Linked DNA regions of Homo sapiens: region 2 is linked to region 1. Evidence: promoter capture Hi-C in 16 types of primary human blood cells and fetal thymus (Javierre and others, 2016). All regions are on one chromosome and are shown on one strand. Each heading gives the region's core, a stretch centred on a gene start or on the middle of the fragment in contact. The rest is flanking DNA. Distances are from core to core; before and after follow the strand shown. Region 1 holds the start of C6orf147 (chromosome 6 open reading frame 147). Region 2 overlaps RIMS1 (regulating synaptic membrane exocytosis 1).

What was found. Contacts are between HindIII fragments. The CHiCAGO score rates a contact against its expected background, and 5 or more counts as called.
Region 2: a fragment that was not itself captured here is called in contact with the fragment with the promoter of C6orf147 in region 1 in 3 of 17 cell types (total B cells, naive CD8 T cells and naive B cells); the score reaches 10.2 in total B cells.

What each region holds. Positions count from the first base shown.
Region 1 is chr6:73,308,493-73,312,274 of GRCh38, forward strand. It overlaps C6orf147 (chromosome 6 open reading frame 147), which reads right to left and starts at 1,886. Exons shown (of 5, transcript NR_027005.4): 1 at 1,814-1,886; 2 at 1,060-1,236. LOC122539213 (KHDC1-KHDC1L) reads right to left here and starts at 1,667. Exons shown (of 7, transcript NR_173146.1): 1 at 1,060-1,667. It also overlaps a transcript of KHDC1 not described here. RefSeq lists enhancers at 1,185-1,254, 1,775-2,034. The HindIII fragment of the contact is 1,548 bases long and covers 1,026-2,573 here.
Region 2 is chr6:72,388,066-72,391,847 of GRCh38, forward strand. It overlaps RIMS1 (regulating synaptic membrane exocytosis 1), which reads left to right. Exons shown (of 34, transcript NM_014989.7): 30 at 2,533-2,671. Among named protein-coding and RNA genes, the nearest start is that of KCNQ5, 230 kb to the right of the region's middle. RefSeq lists a silencer at 2,649-2,849. The HindIII fragment of the contact is 1,949 bases long and covers 1,146-3,094 here.

The DNA.
Region 1 (3,782 bases), core at 636-3,135:
GAACCACCGCGTCCGGCTTTTTTTTTTTTCTTTTTGGACAGGGTCTCACTCCGATTGCCCAGGCTGGAGTGCAGTGTCACGATTTTGGCTCACTGCAGCCTCGACCTCCCCGGGCTCAGGTGATCCTCCCGAGTAGCTGGAACTTCAGATGGGTGCCACATAGCCCAGCTAATTTTTCATATTTTTTTGTAGAGACGGGGTTTCACCATATTGCCCAGGCTGTGACTTCTGGGCTCAAGCGATCCTCCCACCTCGGCCTCCCAAAGTACTGGGATTGCAGGTGTCAGCCACCGCACCCGGTAGAGTTTTTTGCTGTTGTTTTTTGTTGGTTTGTTTTTTGTTTTTTTGTTTTTTCTTGAGACGGAGTCTCGCTCTGTTGCCCAGCCTGGAGAGCAGTGGCGCCATCTCGGCTCACTCCAACCTCCTTCTCCCAGGATCAAGCGATTCTCCTGCCTCCGCCTCCCTAGTACCTGGGATTACAGGCACGCGCGCCAGGCTAATTTTTGTATTTTTAGTAGAGATGGGTTTCACCATGTTGGCCAGGCGGGTCTGAAACTCCTGACCTCAAGTGATGGGCCTTGGCCTCCCAAAGTGCAGGGATTACAGGCGTGAGCCAACGCGCCTGGCAGTTTGCATTTTTAAGGAGTTCTCAGGTGATGCTGATTCTGCTGATCGCGGGACTCCGCTTTGAGATCAGCTCTCCTAGGGTATCTAAGTGACGGGGCAGACCCGCAAAAGAGATTTAGTGGAAGATGGCCCCCTAGAGGAGCTGGCCTGGGATTCCTGGGACTTCTAAACCTACAGTGCACAAATGTCCTAGATTTTCCACCTTTGGTTGCTTCTAGCCACAATCTTCCTTCCCAACCACATCTTGCCCTTTCTACTCACAAACCAGGAGGCACACCCAGGGTTTTTTTTAACATGGTGATTTGCAGAACTGTCCTAGGCCTTCAGACTAAGGAGCTGGAGTGATCCTGAAAGATCCCGGAAGCGAAACTCGCCTTTCCGGGCACCTGGGTGAAGGAAGCTTTTCCTACCAGGGCCCCTAAAGCCACTCACCTCGATTTCTGCGGATCCAAAGGTGGAAAGACACTGTCCCGATCAGGAGCATCGCAAGGGTCTGGAGAAAGGGCCATCCATAAATGAAGATCAGGACTCCGTATTCTGAGACTGTTTCAATCACAAATAAGACTCGGAACAGCCTCTGGAAGGCCGACAGCATTTCGCGTTTCTGGCCTGGGAAAGTAAGGGTGCGCTAAGGCACGAGTAGTACAGCTCCTCCCGCCACCGCAGAGCCCGCCGGCGGGAAGAGACCAGACACCGACGGAGAAGCGAAGTTCAGGACGCGAAGGAAAGGGCCACTTCGGGTCGGGGTCAACCCAGACTGGACCAATGCACAGTCTAGGTGGATTAACGCGCCACCGCGAGAAGTGGGCACGGGACCACATGCGGCTGGCAAGACGTCCCAGGGCTCAAGCTCCAGGCTCGGTCACCAAACAACGGTGATAACATCCACAACGCCACGTAAACCATCTTTGGGCCTTGATCGTTTTCCAATAACCGACTGAACTGAGGGCGTGACCAAACGACAAGAACCGGAGGAGAGGACCCGGAGAACGGAGCAGCATCCCGCCGCCCGCCTCCAGGAAAGCCCGAGGCACTGTAGCAGGAGGGTCTGGGCTCCGCGCCTTAATTACACCGCCCTGGACCCGCCTCTTCCGCCGCTCGCTCCTCTGACCGGCACCCGAAGGTGCTGTCCCGCCCACGGACTCGCTCACACTCCGTTTCTTCGATCCTTTAGACGACTTTTTACCGTTCAGGGATGCTCTCCGTTACCGCCTCTGCCATTTGGTTGCCCTCCCTGCGGTCCAAGGGCCTGGAACACTCCCCAGGGCTGCCAGGCCAGCGCTTTCCAGGGGCTCCAGCCTACAGCGCCGCCACCTGGGGCTGGAGCCAGAAACGCAGGGGCCGGGGGCTCACCGGCTGCCAAGTAGAGGGCGTCGAAAATGGGGCTGGGTGTGTAAGAATGCTTGTGATTTTTGCACACTGATTTTGTATCCCGAGACTTTGCTGAAGTTGCTTATCAGCCTAAGGAGATTTCGGGCTGAGAAGATGAGGTTTTCTAAATATACAATCATGTCATCTGCAAACGGACAATTTGACTTCCTCTTTTCCTAATTGAATATTCTTTATTTCTTTCTCCTGCCTGATTGCCCTGGCCAGAACTTCCAACACTATGTTGAATAGCAGTGGTGAGAGAGGACATCCCTGTCTTGTGCCAGTTTTCTAAGGGAATGCTTCCAGTTTTTGCCTATTCAGTACGATATTGGCTGTGGGTTTGTCATAAACAGCTGTTATTATTTTTAGATACGTCCCATCAATACCTAATTTATTGAGTGTTTTTAGCATGAAGCGCTGTTGAATTTTGTCAAAGGCCTTTTCTGCATCTATTGAGATAATCATGTGGTTTTTTTTCTTTGGTTCTGTTTATATGATGGATTATGTTTATTGATTTGCATATGTTGAACCAGCCTTGCATCCCAGGGATGAAGCCCACTTGATCATGGTGGATAAGCTTTTTGATGTGCTGCTGGATTTGGTTTGCCAGTATTTTATTGAGGATTTTTGCATCGATGTTCATCAGGGATATTGGTCTAAAATTCTCTTTTTTTGTTGTGTCTCTGCCAGGCTTTGGTATCAGGATGATGCTGGCCTCATAAAATGAGTTAGGGAGGATTCCCTCTTTTTCTATTGATTGGAATAGTTTCAGAAGGACTAGTACCAGCTCTTCCTTGTACCTCTGGTAGAATTCGGCTGTGAATCCTTCTGGTCCTGGACTTTTTTGGTTGGTAGGCTATTAATTATTGGCTCAATTTCAGAGCCTGTTATTGGTCTATTCAGGGATTCAGTTTTTTCCTGGTTTAGTCTTGGGAGGGTGTATGTGTCCAGGAATTTATCCATTTCTTCTCGATTTTCTAGTTTATTTGCATAGAGGTGTTTATAATATTCTCTGATGGTAGTTTGTATTTCTGTGGGATCAGTGGTGATATCCCCTTTATCATTTTTTATTGCGTCTATTTGATTCTTCTCTCTTTTCTTCTTTATTAGTCTTGCTAGCTATCAATTTTGTTGATCTTTTCAAAAAAGCAGCTCCTGGATTCATTGATTTTTTGAAGGGTTTTTGTGTCTCTATCTCCTTCAGTTCTGCTCTGATCTTAGTTATTTATTGCCTTCTGCTAGCTTTTGAATGTGTTTGCTCTTGCTTCTCTAGTTTTTTTAATTGTGATGTTAGGGTGTCAATTTTAGATCTTTCCTGCTTTCTCTTGTGGGTATTTAGTGCTATAAATTTCCCTCTACACACTGCTTTAAATGTGTCCCAGAGATTCTGGTATGTTGTGTCTTTGTTCTCATTGGTTTCAAATAACATCTTTATTTCTGCCTTCATTTCATTATGTACCCAGTAGTCATTCAGGGGCAGGTTGTTCAGTTTCCATGTAGTTGAGCAGTTATGAGTGAGTTTCTTAATCCTGAGTTCCAGTTTGATTGCACTGTGGTCTGAGAGACAGTTTGTTATAATTTCTGTTCTTTTACATTTGCTGAGGAGTGCTTTACTTCCAACTATGTGGTCAATTTTGGAATAAGTGCGGTGTGGTGCTGAGAAGAATGTATATTATGTTGATTTGGGGTGGAGAGTTCTGTAGACGTCTGTTAGGTCTGCTTGGTGCAGAGCTGAGTTCAATTCCTGGATATCTTTTTTAACTTTCTGTCTCATTGATCTGTCT
Region 2 (3,782 bases), core at 870-3,369, 920 kb before region 1:
AGTGAACAATACTCACAATGACCCTGCTCACATAGAAATTAAATTCTAATTGGAAAACAGACCACAAACAGATAAAGGTTTAATGGCAGATGAAGCAGTGCTGTGAAGAAAAATAAAGCACAGCAAAGGGATACTATACAAAGCCTCCCTGAGGAGACAGCCTGTCTTGAAGCAGAAATCTGAATAAGGAGCAAGGCAAGAAAGTCAGAAGAGACAAACAGAAGTAAAAAAGGCCCAGAAGCAGCATGCTTGCAGGCTTGAGGAAATGCAGGGAAGACAGTGTGACTGGAGAGCATTGATCATATGGAATGAGGGGCAGAAGATGAGATGTGAGGTGTCCAAGGACCAGATGATATGGCATTTCCTGGGCCACGATAACAATTTTGGATTTTCATTTTACTTTGGTGATTAATCATTATAAGATCTTGAGCAGGGGAATGATATATTCAGATTTACATTTTTAAAGACTCACCATGGCTGTTATGTCAAGAATATTCTGAGGAGGAAAGGAATAGAAGCAGTGACACTAGCTGTACGGGTATGGCACTGCTCTTTTGAGTGATGATAGTGTCTGGACATAGGGTTGGAGCTGTGGAGAGGAAGAAGAATGACCAGACTTGTGATGCATTTTGAAGGCAAAGCCAAGAGGATTCGCTGATGGATTGGGTGTGGGGTGTGTTAGAGGAATCAAAGATGATTACAAGGATTTAGGCCTTATCACCCAAGTGAATTGTAGTACCATTTACTGTGGGAGGAGGATTTAGTAGTGGGAGGTGGTAGTGTGGTGGAGGTGGGGAAGAGTTCTGTCTTGGATATGTTAATGTTGAAGTGCCTATCAGATCTGTAAATGGAGCTACTAGGCAATTGGATTAATGACTTCAGCATTTATGGGAAAGGTTAAGACCTTGATGTATATTTGGGAGGCACAAGGGCATAGGTGGCTTTGTTAGCTATGTTAAAGCTATGTTAGAGATCACCTAGGAAGTAAGTGTAGAAGAAAGCAAAAGGTCTGAGGCCTGAGGTCTAGGGATTGTCTATTTCTAAAAATCTCAAAGAGGAAAAATCCAGCAGAAGAGACTGGGAAGTAACAACCAATGTCAAAGAAGGAAAAACGGAGAATGTGGATCACAGTAGCCAAGTGAAGAAGCTTGTATAGGTATAAAGAAAAAATAGTTCCCAAATTACTAACCATTGTCTTCCTTGAGTGGTGAAATTATAGGGGGCATTCAATGTTGGCAATTTCTGTAACATTTAAATATTTTGTAATATACATATATTGTCTTTGTAAGCAAAAATAGCAATAAAAAGGTTAAGAACAATAAAAAATAAAAATTTTAATGAACATACTAAATGTGTAGGAAGGATCAGCATTAAGTTCATATAGCATAACCTATTATATCTTTGATTAGACAATTTACAAAAGGAATCCAGTGACCAAAAATGAGAGGGAAAAAATGCAGTGTTTCAAATGGCTTATCTAAGAGTGTATTTAGGTACCTGCTTTGTAAAGGTTTTATGTGGATTGAAAAGTTAATGTGTTTATATAGTAGTTATGTATGTAATTATGTATATAGAGCATTTTTCATATATTATTAATGGGTATTATATGATACTATACAGAAACTAAAGCGAAAACCAGAAATTTATATAGGACGTATAGATGGAATAAAGTCTAACAGTTTTCCTAACCTATTGATACTGCTTATACATGTAAGCAAGTAAATATTTTAGAATTTATTTCCATGCTATGAATAGAATGCTGGTTAGTGCATTTCAAAGTGGCTCAAGAAAATTCCTCTGAGCTTATCAAGAACTGAAATGCAAATGTATGTAATTCCCAGTACAAATGGAGGTGTACACCCCAAACTGCCAGTCAGAACTCATGCAGCTGAGTCAAAAGGCCATGAGGTAGCTGTGTAGTCTTTGAATTAAGATAAAACCTGTTACACCTAACTCCATAATCTATATGGAGTAGAAATAAGTATAAATATTATATAGTGTATGTTAAAGTGCTGCAAAAATCATCAATTAAAATACTAGTTTCTCTTCATGAGGATTGCTGATACGTGACAGTAAAACTGTGGTATTTTTCAAACTGGGTTCCAAATGCACCTTCTCCTTAAAAGAACACGACCTGTCCTTTGGGACTATTCATACACATTTAGTGAATTCCGTATTAGGAGAAACCTATTAGATTGTTCACCATTATCTTTCCACAGAACAGTTGGGTGCCAAATTCAGATTTTCATTGAAGTTGTCACCATCAATAATACAATGATTTCATTTTGGCTGATTGAGATTTAGGCAGTCACTGAAACTGTGGCCATGGCATAGCATCCAGTGGTACTCCCCTTAGCCAAGCATACTTTGGCAAGGAGCCTGAATCAAGCAAAGTACTCCCTTAGGTTACTATTTTTCTGATTAAATTTGTAATTATGTGTAAAATTAACTATTGTATTTGCAGGATCAATTGATATTCAGGAGTAAACTGTCTAAATAAAACTTAGAGTTTCTTTTACTCTCTCCTGTCAGAGTCGGGCCACAAAAAGTTAAAAAGTACCATCCAGAGAAGCACAGAAACAGGCATGGCAGCTGAAATGAGAAAGATGGTAAGGCAGCCGAGCCGAGAGTCTACTGATGGCAGCATCAACAGTTACAGCTCTGAGGGCAAGTAAGTGCTGTCAGCACGTCTGCATGGCTGTGGAACCAGGAATTGTGTACTAATCAGTAAGATAACAAAGCCACTGAGTGTTACTGTGCAGCTTCTCTATTTAATCAGAAGTTCAACCATCCATTTTAAACCACCCTGATGGCTTATAAGTAAGTACACATGGACACACCTCTACACCTGGTCATTCATACCTTTCAAAGGGTGAAGAAATTCTGAGTCCACATGAACAAATTGATTTCTTGCATCTAGGAAAGCCCAGACTAGTTCCTTACTGGATGTTTAGTGTACAAATGCCACAGGTAATGGACTCTTTCATATGGGAAACTCATAGTCTGTCCCTGTCACCAAAGTCCAAGTTAAAATTTATAAGTAAGGAACTGATTTCCCATTTTCTTAATTTTCTCCAAGCTATTTTGGACCCTAAGCTTTTCTAAGTCTAACACTGTCATATATGTAAGTTACATTTTCTTGTTTTTAAAACATTGCTGACTCATTTTTACCTTAGGAAATAATCCAGGGTCTATCAGCTTCATTATTTTTCTGACTAAAATGTTTTAGTTAATTCTGAAAAAATAGAATACGATTTTTAAAAATTTACTCTTTTCGATTCTTTTTCTTTTTTTTTTTTTTTTACCATTTCATATGGATCCTGCACAAAACCTGCTTCTTCCTATGCTTGAGAATATTTCTGGTAAAATTGAATTTTTATTGAGGTAGTGGATCTTACAAATAAGTAATTAATGTGTTGTTTTGGATTACATGGAGATTCACCACATATAAATTTTCCATAATTATTTGTTCATTACCATTCACATTACTCATATACCAATTTGATATTTCTAATTTCTTGTCTTTACTGGAATTTTTCTATATTGTTTAGAAAATTTAACAGAATTATGCCAAGTTACTGTTTGTGATATTCCTTCCCATTCCTGAAACTAGTTGGTCTCTGTTTAGTTGGTCAAATGATTGGCTTGTTATGCATGTTTCCAGTAAGGAATATAAGAACAAAAATCAGCAGGTATGAAAGTTACAGAGATAAACTTACTGACAAAATACCCATATTTGATGAAGTAGCATAAAGTAATATACAAATGAGACTTGAACACAT